3 separate regions of the Homo sapiens genome follow, and regions 1 and 2 are each linked to region 3. Evidence: promoter capture Hi-C in 16 types of primary human blood cells and fetal thymus (Javierre and others, 2016). All regions are on one chromosome and are shown on one strand. The core of a region is centred on a gene start or on the middle of the fragment in contact, and the rest is flanking DNA. Distances in the headings are between cores, read along the strand shown. Region 1 overlaps POGZ (pogo transposable element derived with ZNF domain). Region 2 overlaps POGZ (pogo transposable element derived with ZNF domain). Region 3 holds the start of THEM4 (thioesterase superfamily member 4).

What was found. The method cuts DNA at HindIII sites, captures the fragments that hold promoters and counts their contacts. A CHiCAGO score of 5 or more calls a contact.
Region 1: a fragment that was not itself captured here is called in contact with the fragment with the promoter of THEM4 in region 3 in 1 of 17 cell types (total CD4 T cells); the score reaches 5.2 in total CD4 T cells.
Region 2: a fragment that was not itself captured here is called in contact with the fragment with the promoter of THEM4 in region 3 in 4 of 17 cell types (naive CD4 T cells, megakaryocytes, non-activated CD4 T cells and 1 more); the score reaches 6.9 in naive CD4 T cells.

The regions. Positions count from the first base shown.
Region 1 is chr1:151,410,819-151,414,701 of GRCh38, reverse strand. It overlaps POGZ (pogo transposable element derived with ZNF domain), which reads left to right. Exons shown (of 19, transcript NM_015100.4): 11 at 2,306-2,406; 12 at 2,931-3,077. Among named protein-coding and RNA genes, the nearest start is that of PSMB4, 13 kb to the right of the region's middle. The HindIII fragment of the contact is 318 bases long and covers 1,783-2,100 here.
Region 2 is chr1:151,452,471-151,456,545 of GRCh38, reverse strand. All of the region lies in intron 1 of POGZ (pogo transposable element derived with ZNF domain), which reads left to right. Among named protein-coding and RNA genes, the nearest start is that of POGZ, 5.0 kb to the left of the region's middle. The HindIII fragment of the contact is 951 bases long and covers 1,198-2,148 here.
Region 3 is chr1:151,907,123-151,911,007 of GRCh38, reverse strand. THEM4 (thioesterase superfamily member 4) reads left to right here and starts at 1,497. Exons shown (of 6, transcript NM_053055.5): 1 at 1,497-1,648. The coding sequence starts at 1,550. RefSeq lists enhancers at 525-1,112, 1,101-1,220 and a silencer at 1,461-1,770. The HindIII fragment of the contact is 4,270 bases long and covers 1-3,520 here.

The DNA.
Region 1 (3,883 bases), core at 692-3,191, 500 kb after region 3:
CAAGCGATTCTCTTGCCTCAGCCTCCCAAGTAGCTGGGACTACAGACATGCATTACTGTGCCCGGCTGATTTTGTATTTTTAGTAGAGACAGGGTTTCTCCATGTTGGTCAGGCTTGTCTTGAACTCCCAACCTCAGGTGATCCGCCTGCCTTGGCCTCCCAAAGTGTTGGGATTACAGGCATGAGCCACCGTGCCCAGCCAACACATGTAAATCTTAACCTGATGCTTGTACATTAGAAATTGCTTAATAAGTGTTTTTATTATTGATGTTGCATGACAGCTGTGAAAATAGAGCTGATAAATAGGTTATAGGAGAAAGAGTGAATGAGATTGCCCAGGGAAAACATAGACTAAGAAAGGCCTGGACAAAATATTGCTTAAAGGTGTTCTAGAAGAGAAAAATGAGAGAGGTAAACAAATCGGGGGGTGAGTGGAAAAGAGATAATATCGTTATGTTGCTAGTTAACTGTTTCCCAAACATGTGGTTAACTTTCATACCTACTTGCCTTTCCTCCTGCTTTTCTCTTGGTCCTCTCTCTGGCTGGCTGAGCCCCATTCTTTGACAATTCAGCTTTTATATGTTGTTATAGCTTTTCCTCATTCCTTTATGCAGAATTTCTTATTTATCCATGTCCTCATAGCACCTAATGTACCTGTAGACAGTGTTTCTAAATGGAGTTGCAGACCTCTTTGAGAATAAATATGAAATGTTTGAATCCTCTTCCTAGAAAAATCTACATTTTACTCTTTTGCAAATAATTTCAGAGAAAGCCTGGATTCCTAGAGGCCTGTTCCATAGACCCCAGATTAAGAACCCCTGGCTTTTGTTTGTTTGTTTTACTTTAAAAAATTACTTGGCTAGGCACAGTGGCTCATACCTGTAATTCTGGTACTTTGGGAGGCTGAGATGGGAGGATTGCTTGAGCTTGGGAGGTCAGGGTTGCAGTGAGCCATGATTGAGCCACTGCGCTCTAGCGTGCGAGACAGAACGAGACTCTGTCTCAAAACAAAAATCCAGGGTTCTCGGTAGTTAAAAAAAGAAAAAAGAATTATTTCAACTTTATTCATATTTCTTTGGCTGGGGTGTAGGGGGCTGGGGGCGGGGGGAGGTTAGACATTGTCCAGTAAATGCCCAAGGCTTTAAGCTTCCAGTTTTCATATTTGCAAAAACTTGAAACTAATTCCATTAAAGTGACAAAAATGTAAATAATCTCTCTCTTTTTGCCATACTGTATAATTAAAAATATGTAGCAGTTAAAAGTCTTACCAAAATTGGCCGGTGCACTGGCTCACACCTGTAATTCTAGCACTTTGGGAGACTGAAGTGGATTGACAAAAGGATTGCTTGAGGCCAGGAGTTTCCGACCAGCCTGGGCAACATGGCGAGACCCTGTCCCTACAAAAAAAAATTTTTTTTAATTACTTGGGCATGGTGGTGCACCACTGTAGTCCTAGCTACTTGGGAGGCTGAAACAGGAGGCTCGCTTGAGCTCAAAGGATAGTCCTAGCTACTCAGGAGGCTGCGGTGAGCTATGATCATGCTCCAGCCTGAGCAACAGTGAGATTCTGTCTCTTAAAAAAAAAAAAAAAAAAAAAAGCCCAGGCACGGTGGCTCACACCTATAATCCCAGCACTTTGGGAGGCTGGGACAGGTAGATCACCTGAGGTCAGGAGTTCGAGACCAACCTGGCCAACATGAAATTACCAAAAATTGTCTCAGAAGTTTGACAAAATTGTTCATTTGTGTCATAAAATTTTGTCAAAATTTTTTCTCATAAGCTTGACAAAATGGACAATTTCAAAGAGAGTAGGAGGTATTGGAGGCCAGCTGATTAGCAGTGGGAAATCATATGGGCTAGTACCAAGTTTTTGCCTTATTATAAGTATAGAGAAGTGACAGTTCCTACATGCAGTTTGAAATAATGGTGACAGAATGCAGGGTTTGGAATCCGAGATAGTGCCTAAATTTTGAGCTCAGGAAGAAATGGGGAAAGGAAAAAGGGAAACAGTGGTAAGACAGGAGGATGCTGAATTAGGTTAGAGTTGACGATAGAATAACCAATTTAAAATGTCTTATAGATAAAATCTAGAATGAAGCTTTGGTAAGAAGTCTGAGCTACGTACATAAGATTATCAGCAACATATATGTTAAGGTGGAGCCATTTAAAGAAAGAACAGAAGGGACCTATGATTTACTGATTGTTGAAAATCAAAATAAAGGAGGCAGAGAAAATAAAGATTGTGAGTCAGCAGGACTTTTGTCTTATTTTCAAGTGGATTTATTGATTACTTTTCTTCTTACAGCCAAGTGCAAGATCTGTGAATGGGCGTTTGAAAGTGAGCCACTATTTCTCCAGCATATGAAGGATACTCATAAGCCTGGAGAGATGCCTTATGTTTGCCAGGTATTGCCTTTTTCTCCAGGGAGTTTTAGCAGTTTTGCCCTCAGGAAGAATACAAAGAATTTACTAATGAATATTGTTGACCACCTACTGCATACACTCAGTTTAGGAACTCTGAGTAGGTACAGAAGAAATAGTAAACACAGTTTATCTTCAGGGTTTCCATGCAGGAGAAAAACATAAAAGAACATGTCCACAAGTAGACTAGCCGGGAACATGTGCATATTCTAAGGGAGTGTCTGTCTCCTGAACGTGCCCTTTGGAAATTGACAGAAAAGGCTTTATTTTTCTTAGTTAGAGAACATGGATTATTCTTAGACTTTCTGTCCCTTCCTATTTTTAAAGTAATAGCTAAACCTATCACAAACATAGCCCAGCATTACAAAGTCAGGAAAATAATTTGATTTCTATGCATTTGAGAAAACTTTTTTTTTTTAATTTAAAAATTTTTGTTGCTACCTTTTTTTTTAAGGCCTCTCAGTTGTTCACTTCATTCTTAGCCTTATTTTCCCTCCTATGTGACTCAGGTGTGTCAATATCGCTCCTCACTCTACTCTGAGGTAGATGTCCATTTTCGGATGATCCATGAGGATACCCGGCATCTGCTCTGCCCTTATTGCCTGAAGGTCTTCAAAAATGGCAATGCATTCCAACAGCATTACATGAGGCACCAGGTACTAGGCACCAAGCAATTCCCATATTCTCTTGTTTTTTTTTTTTTTAAACATGGATGCTGGGGCCAGGGCTGAGCTAGGCAAATAATTTGGGCAGAGATTATAATATGCATATGTTTGCAGAAATTTATTGAATTCACTTAATGTGCCATGTACTAGTCTAGATGCTAGAGATTTAGTAGTAAACAAGGCAAACAATACAATAAAACATGAAGAGTACTGTGTTGGGGAAATTATAGGATATAGAAAATCACATAGCTATTCTGGGTGCCTAGTAAGGCTTCCAGAAAGAAGTGTTGTTCAATACCTGAGGGATGAATAAGAATGAGCCAGATGAAATAAGACGAAGAACAGTGTGCCCAAGGCACAAAGCAAAATTGTGGAGGTTCAAGAAATTGAGAGAGATTCAGTGTAGGGTGTAAGAGACAGAGGGGTTGGAAGTTAGGCAGGGACAGATCATGGAGGATCTTTTAAGCCATGAAAAGAATTCACTGGGAAGCCACTAAAGGGGTTTTAAGCCCTGGAGTGATGTGTTCAGCTTTAGTTAAGGCTTTATACTGCCTGCACTGCAGAGAATGGATTAAAGGAGATTGAGACTACAGTTAGGGAAACTAGCTAGAAGGCCTTTTTCAGTAGTTTAGGTGAGAGATGATAGTGGCTATTGGCTTTTGAAATAAAAAGAGGGTAGAGTTGAGAGATATTCAGAAGATTTGTGATATTTATGATGTAGAGATGGATTAGGTGAAGGTAGCAATGCAGTAGTTAAGAATAGTGCCTAAGATTCTGTCTTGGGCAGTTGGGTGAAT
Region 2 (4,075 bases), core at 424-2,923, 450 kb after region 3:
CATTTGTGAGATTGGGTTGTGAATGAATGGCTTATTTCATGGAGTAGCATTTTTACTTGAAAGAACGACTAGCAGACTATGGTTTTTCACACTTAGTATTTGGCAGATATTTCTTGAAAATGAAGTGAGCTTGTCACTTTTAGGAAAACAACTGACAGTATTTATTACCAGTGATAAAATTTGGGTGAAAATTAGAATTTTTAAAAAGTTGACAGCTGGAGTTTGACAGCTTCCTAGTACTTAAAAGACTTTCCTTATGATATCAGTGGTTAAGGACTGCAATATTTTAAAATGTTGTTTAATGAAATATGTTATTTGGAAGATGGGCATAACTCAGTAAATCTAGGCTTTGCAAATGACCAATGCATGATGTTGCAAAATCAAGCAAAGGCAAAAGATCCTTTGAAAATTCCAGACATAGCAATGGATTTTAACAGTAAAAAAGTGGATTGATGTGGTTTCAGATTCCAAAATGTTAACTGTCCTTTAAGAAACTACTATTTGGCCTAGCGTGGTGGCTCACTCCTGTAATCCCAGCACTTTGGGAGGCCAAGGTGGAAGGATTGTGTGAGCCCAGGAGTTGGAGTTGAGCCTGGTCAGCATAGTGAGACCCTGTCTCTATTTATTAAAAAAAAAAAAAAAAAAAAAAAAGAAAGAAACTACCGTTTGTTGAGTTTTAGTATTTACCAAACACAGTTATCTGAAAAGGTTATTAAAATACTTCTCCCTTTTCCGACTAGATTTTCATTATATACTTAACCAAAGCTACATATAGCAACAGACTGAATGCAGAAGTAACTGTGAGAATCCAACCATCTTTTATCAAGTTAGACATAAAAGAGATTTGCAAAATGCAAAACAACGTTACTTTTCTCACTTTTTGGAGGGAAAGTATTTTTTGTTGAAATGTTATTTATGTTAACTTATAATGGGCTTGTCTTAAAATACATTGATAAATACTACATTTTAAAAATTTGTGGTAAATGTGGAAAGATAAAATTCACATAAACAAAAGATCTTTGGCGTCTTCAATAATTTTAAGAGTCAAAAAAATGAGAATCATTCAGTCAGTCCTATGTTTCTGCTCTTTACATCATTCAAATCTAACTCCCTTGGGGAACTTGGGAGAATTTATAAATAGTTGAAGTTGATGGAAGAGGCAGTGACCTGGGGAAGAATTCTAAAGCAAAAAAAGCTTGCTTTGAATCCTAACTGGGATATTTACTAACTGTAACCTTGAGGAAGTTACTTCGTCTCTCTAAACCACTGTTTTGACCTTATCTGTAAAATAAAAACTTTAGAGCTGGTTGATTACAAATCCTAGAGCTGGTTAATGCCTTTGCCATAATATCAATATGGTAACATTTTGATAGATTCTTTGGTATTCTTGTTTGTGATATTAAGCCATATTCACAAAAACTTGTCTTTTTTTTTTTTTTGAGATGGAGTCTCGCTCTATTGCCCAGGCTGGAGCGTAATGGCGCAATCTCGGCTCACTGCACCCTCCGCCTCCTGGGTTCAAGCGATTCTCCTCCTTCAGCTTCCTCAGTAGCTGGGATTACAGGCACGCGCCACCACACCTGGGTAATTTTTGTATTTTTCTAGAGATGGGGTTTCACCATATTGATCAGGCTGGTCTCAAACTCCTGACCTCTTGATCGACCCGCCTTGGCCTCCCAAAGTGCTGGGATTACAGGCGTGAGCCACCACGCCCAACTGAAAAACGTATTTTTATATGTAACCAAGGGGAGGAGAGCAGAAAAGAGACACTAACCTATTGCTAGGTGTTAGCAGAGTTAAAAGAAATTGAAAGCATAGAAATGGAATTTAGGCAACACACAGCTGTCATTGAAGAAAAGTTTTCCATCATAGTATAGATATTTTTCTTGGGAAAGGGACTCCTGAATATTGAACCCCTTTAAAGAAGAGAACTTGTTGCTTACTTGTTTTAGTAAAGAGCACAGAACTAAATATTTGGGTGTTTCTTGATACAGGATTGGCTACCAGACAAGAGGAAAGTATTTTGAGTTTGGAAATTTTAGGTTATTAAGACTACTTAAAACCCTTATGATTCTTACATATGAGGTACTATAACAGATGTTGTGAGGGACAAAATGGGCTGTGCAAAAGACTGGATAAATAAAAGCTTATTACATGTTTAACTATAGTTTTATACACAGATTAAGTATTCAGCCCTATAGGTTTTCTGGTATTAGTCCTTTTTAGAGCCAAAAATTGAGGTAACTTGAAAACATAATTACCAGTTATGTTGAGGATTATCATTGTTTATTTTTCACCCTGGAACAAGAAAGTGGTATTCTTAAAATGTTTGTTTTCTGTAAAATATTTTTCCTGTTCCAAATGTTCTTTTTATGTTGATTTTTGGGCAGGTATGTACTGGCAGTAAGTTGAAAACGTTAGATACCAAATTCTTCATTTCTGAATTCTTCATTCTTCATTTCTGGACTTTACAGCTATGAAAGAACAAGACAAAGGAATTCAGAGCTTTCAAGAACCAAGTATGTCAGGATAGTTGTGGAAAACAGATCTTTTTCTCATTTTCTTTGAGATGAAGATAGGCAACATTTGCTGCCCATTAAATACCTTAAAAGTATACAGGTGTATCTGCAGGATTCTTTTTGCTGCTTTTAAATAGTATATTGTTTTAAAAGGTCTGTTTTTATCTTGCCTTTACAATTATATAGACTTTTATTGACTAGCTGATCATATAGGGCCTTAGTATAGACTACCATATTCGCCAGCATTTAAGAAATAGTCCCCTTCCCTCCAGGAGAGTATTTATCTGGTACTCCCATATTATGGATTGAAGGATGAGACAAGAGACTGAGTATTGCTAATAGTTCTGTGTGAGCCTGCAGTGTTAAGTAAAACCTATTGAGTGCACAAAAAAATCATGTTACAATTACTACAAAATAGAGAAACCACCTAGGTTACCAAGATGTCAAATAATGGATTAATGGAAGAAAGTAATGTACCTCCTTGGTAGCCTACATAATCCACCTTAATTTGTTATTTCTTATTTAACTATTTTGCTATGTCTTAAGAAATGTATATTAAGTGAAAATGGATGCATAAAAATAAAAAAAGAGAAATGTATATATACAAGCTACATGAAAATTGGTCCTGGGAATAAATCAAGAAATTCAACCAACAAGGCTACCAGTTATTTAGTAAATACCAAAGAGATAGGTGGAATGTAGCAGTACAGAATATCACAGCTAAGATATGAGTAGGTAGTTCCACTCCCTCCTACCCCACCTCAGTTTTTATTAAGAAAATTTCACGCATGCGAAAAGGGAGAAAGAGGCTGGGCGCAGTGGCTCACACCTGTAACCGAAGCACTTTGGGAGGCCAAGATGGGCGGATCACAAGGTCAGGAGTTCAAGACCAGCCTGACCAACATGGTGAAACCTGTCTCTACTAAAAATACAAAAATTAGCTGGGCGTTGTGGCGCATGCATGTAATCCCAGCTACTCAGGAGGCTGAGGCAGGAAAATCACTTGAACCTGGGAGGTGGAGGTTGCAGTGAGCCAAGATCACTCCAGCCTGGGCAACTGAGCGAGACTCCATCACAAAAAGAAGAAAAAAGAAAAGGGTGAAAGAATTCTACAAGGAACACTTAAACTATCCACCACCTAGACAGAGTGACTTTTTTTTTTTAAGACAGAGTCTCGCTCTGTTGCCTAGACTAGAGTGCAGTGGCACAATCTTGGCTCACTGCAACCTCTGCCTCCCGAATTCAAGCGATTATCCTGCCTCAGCCTTCCGAGTAGCTGGGACTGCAGGCACCAGCCACCACGCATGGCTAATTTTTGTATTTTTAGTAGAGACGGGGTTTCACTGTGTTGGCCAGGCTGGTCTCGAACTCCTGTCCTTGTGATCCGCCTGCATTGGCCTCCCAAAGTGCTGGGATTACAGGCGTGAGCCACTGCGCCTGGTGACAGGATGATTTTTAATGTTTTGGCCCATGCCAAATATTTTTTGAAAGTTGGCATACTAGTATCTATAAGAAAATATCAAAATAGCCCACCTGTAGTGACAACTACTTGGGAG
Region 3 (3,885 bases), core at 248-2,747:
GCACAACATGGGAAGACAACAGACACCAAAGATACTTTGGATTCTTGCTGCTAAGTAAGTATTCAAGCACTACGTGCACGTTGTTACAATTAATAAGGCAATCTGACCCCATCCCTGCCACCAGGAAACTGCAATACTATTAATATATTAAAAAGGAAGACAACTGAGATAAAGGGAATGTGGGAGGTTGGGGGGGGTGCTTAGGAGATATCAGAATACAACCTCTTAGAATTACAGAATCTCAACAACCATCCTTTATGCCTGATCTTCGGTTCAGTAGCTCTAGGATTCCAAGGGGCCCCTCCTAACTGCATTGCCTTCTCTCCCCAATTCCCTTTCTCTCAGAATGTTACACCTTCCCCCAGTTAATAGTGTAGGCTTAAAATGTATCTAGGTGTTCTTACCTACTGACAAACTGCTGGAGTTGTTCATGGGAAAGGAATCAAGGCAAAATATCTAATGCATTCAGGTCATTCGAGTTTTCTTTTTAATTTATTGCTTTTTTGAGATGGGGCATCAGTATGTTGCCCAGGCTGAAGTGCAATAGCAGTATCTCTGCGAGACTCTGTCTCAAAAAAAACCCATTAGAGTCTTCACCTTAGGATGGACTAGGGCTATGGCATACTGGTAAGCATTTAAAAATAAAGGGGTATGATGGCCCGGATTTGCATTATCTGAGTAATGGGAATACTCCAACCCAGTCCGATTTCAAGGTCCCAGTGAGGTTACTGAATTCGAAGCTCAGAAGGTATGCGCCTAGTATTCCCACCATACGAATACAAGCGAGGTAAGTAACCTCAAAAGCATCGATAACAGTAAAATAGTTACAATACCTGTTACGCCTTTAGTATCCATTACCTTCGTTTAATTTAACTGTCAGTTTACATAACAAAAGAGTCTTTTAAGGCGTAAGCGCGCTCCTGGGGAGGGTATGGGGCTGTTGGCAGGGAAAGCAGCTTTTCGATCGTATAAATGCTCTTTGTGCCCAGACTGCCCTCTATAAATCAGCACTATCAACCCTGTCCAGAGACTTGCCCATGACCTCCAAGAAAACACTTTATTCATACTACTCCTAGCGTGCGCTCCTACCCGCCCCAGGGACTTCAGTCTTCCGGGGGAGGGATAACTACTTGGGGACACGGAGCACTGCGTACGCCCTGGGTCATGTGGGAAGGATGACCGCAAAGCCTCCAGTCGGCGCGCGGGTTCCGGGGCTGAGGGGCTGAGGGGCCCAAGGCGATAACCGGGATCCGCTCCGGCCGCGCTCCTCTTGCCTTTGAGAAGCCCCGGAAGTGGCCCGGCTGTTGGCCGCAGCGGGAGGTCTTCGGAAAGAAAAGGCCGGAACCAGAAGATAGACTCAACAGCGATGCCCTACCCGGACCCCGCCGGCCTCACACCCCGGCCAGCCAGCCGCCAGTAGTGCGCACCGCCTCCTCCCCAAGCCCCGCCCTGCGTCCACCCCAGGGGTTAACTCGCACGCGCGCTCTTGTGGCGGAGGTAGAGTGCGCCGTCCAGGGCTAGAGCAAGCGCGGCCCCGCGGCCCGGAGCCATGCTGAGGAGCTGCGCCGCGCGCCTCCGCACGCTGGGGGCTCTGTGCCTGCCGCCAGTAGGCCGGCGCCTGCCGGGAAGCGAGCCGCGACCCGAGCTGGTGAGTCTGGGCACCCTCGGGCATGGGGCGGGAGCAGGACTCAGAAACACGCCTGCGGTAACAGAGCCTTCGATTGTTATCCATACCCCAACCAGCCAATCTCAGAATAAAAGCTCACCTGGGCACCACAGGGCAGCATAAGCAACAGGGGCCTAGGAATACAGTCCTGAGATTCAAACCGTTAGAAAAGGGATGGAAAGGTGACCCCGTTTTTTTGTTTTTTAAGAGACAGGGTCGGCAGGGCGCTACCTGAACTGCATAATTTAGTCTGTCTATTTATATTTTGACAACATCTGTATTTTACCAATAATATTTGAGGCTGTTTTTATTTTTCAAAGATTAAAGTGACGTGAACTAAAAGATACCACAGCTTTTATCTTCCCTTTAAAAAAATATTTGATCCAAACGCTTATCTTCCTTTAGGTCAATTAATTAGAGATCTTTTTATAGACATCACACACAACACATATATAACTACACAGACAGGCAGAAGAAAACCCAGTTGCCATAAGATCTTTCATCACAGGGAGAGGGATCTATCTGCTTTTAATTCCTGGGGTTCCATGAGGAAAACAGAGATCGCCCCTCTTATGCAGGCATTAAAAGTGGCAAGGCAAAATGGAGAAAAATAACTCAGTCGACCGCAAAGAAACACTTTTTCCAGCAAAATAAGGTCCAAGAAAAGGAAAACATAAAGGCCTTATAAATATAATTACAACTTAGATATCTACTTTTAATTAAGCTGAGCACTCCTTAAGAAAATTCTTTTAACACCCTTATTATCTAACTTTAGCTCCACCAAGCGGCCAATATTTCTGGCTTTCAAACTTTACTTAAAGGCTCAGAGAAAGGAAAATCCAAGGTGGTTGGTGGAGGGCAGGGGAATCGACAAATAGCGAAAGGGCATACAGATACCAAACCAGAAAGGACTCATTCCCTAAGCCAGGATGAATCTGGGCCATGCCGGGCTAAACGAAGCTATGCAATGGGGTTACAGGCCACGCCCCCAAGGACGTAAAACAAGATGGAGGCCTGCAGCGAAGTTTGCTGTGGAGCATACAGAAAGACATGCAAAACACACAGATTGGCTACAGCTTACGACTTACCTCACAAATCCTTTCGCACAAAACTTTACAGAAAATATAAACGGTAATCCTCATCATTCCCAAAAGAGCAAAACGTCTTCCAAAAGGAAAAGAAAAACCTCCTTTAAAAGTATACTGCTGATGGGTTGGAGAGGAGATAAGGATGCCTGGGGGAAGAACCTCTTATTCCTATGCAAATGGTTCCTCCACCAGAGAGAGGAGCTTAATTGCTGTGGGACAGAGCTAGACTCCCTGGAATGGGGAGGGGGAGACTGCAGGCACCTGGTAGGGAACGCCAGCCAGCCATGCCGGCGCCTTGGAGCCTGGGCAGTGGCTGTGGCTCATTTATGCCCTGTGTGGCTACTGGACACCACACACACATGCTGCAGACACCACCATGCACCCCAGCCAGTAAAGAAGTGGGGCCAGGGAGCTACCCCACCCAACTGTCTTGTGAGTGCACTGGTGACCATTGGGGTGGGTGTGGACCACCTCCAGTATCGTAAAAAGAAAAATAGGTGCCGTTGCTGTCCCCCCAAAAAGAAGAGGAATGCCATAAGACCAAAAGGCTCAGAAATGAAAGTGAGAGGTTTTGAGTCCCCATTTCACTCATCCTTCTGTTGCAGGAATGAAGGAGGACTGGAGAGGCCATGGGGTGAGACAGGAGAACTTTATTGAGTGCACTCAGACCCAGCGGACTAACATCCAAAAGCTGGGCCCAGAACAAAGACAGCACTTGACTTTAATACACACTTTTAAAAGGGGGTGGGCTAGCTTGAAACAAGCTTACAGTGGCGTGAAGCATAGTGGCGTGAAAGCAAGGATACAGAGGCAGCACAAAGGCAATTAATTCATCAAATTGTGACAGGTGCATAATTCAGGATTACATACTGTGTCGGAATTGATGGGTTCTTGGTCTCACTGACTTCAAGAAAGAAGCCACGGACCCTCGTGGTGAGTGTTATAGTTCTTAAAGGCGGCATGTCCGGCGTTTGTTCCTTCTGATGTTCGGATGTGTTCAGAGTTTCTTCCTTCTGGTGGGTTCATGGTCTTGCTGGCTCAAGAGTGAAATTGCGGACCTTCGTGGTGAGTGTTATAGCTCTTAAGGCAGCACGTCTGGAGTTGTTCGTTCCTCCCGGTGGGTTTGTGGTC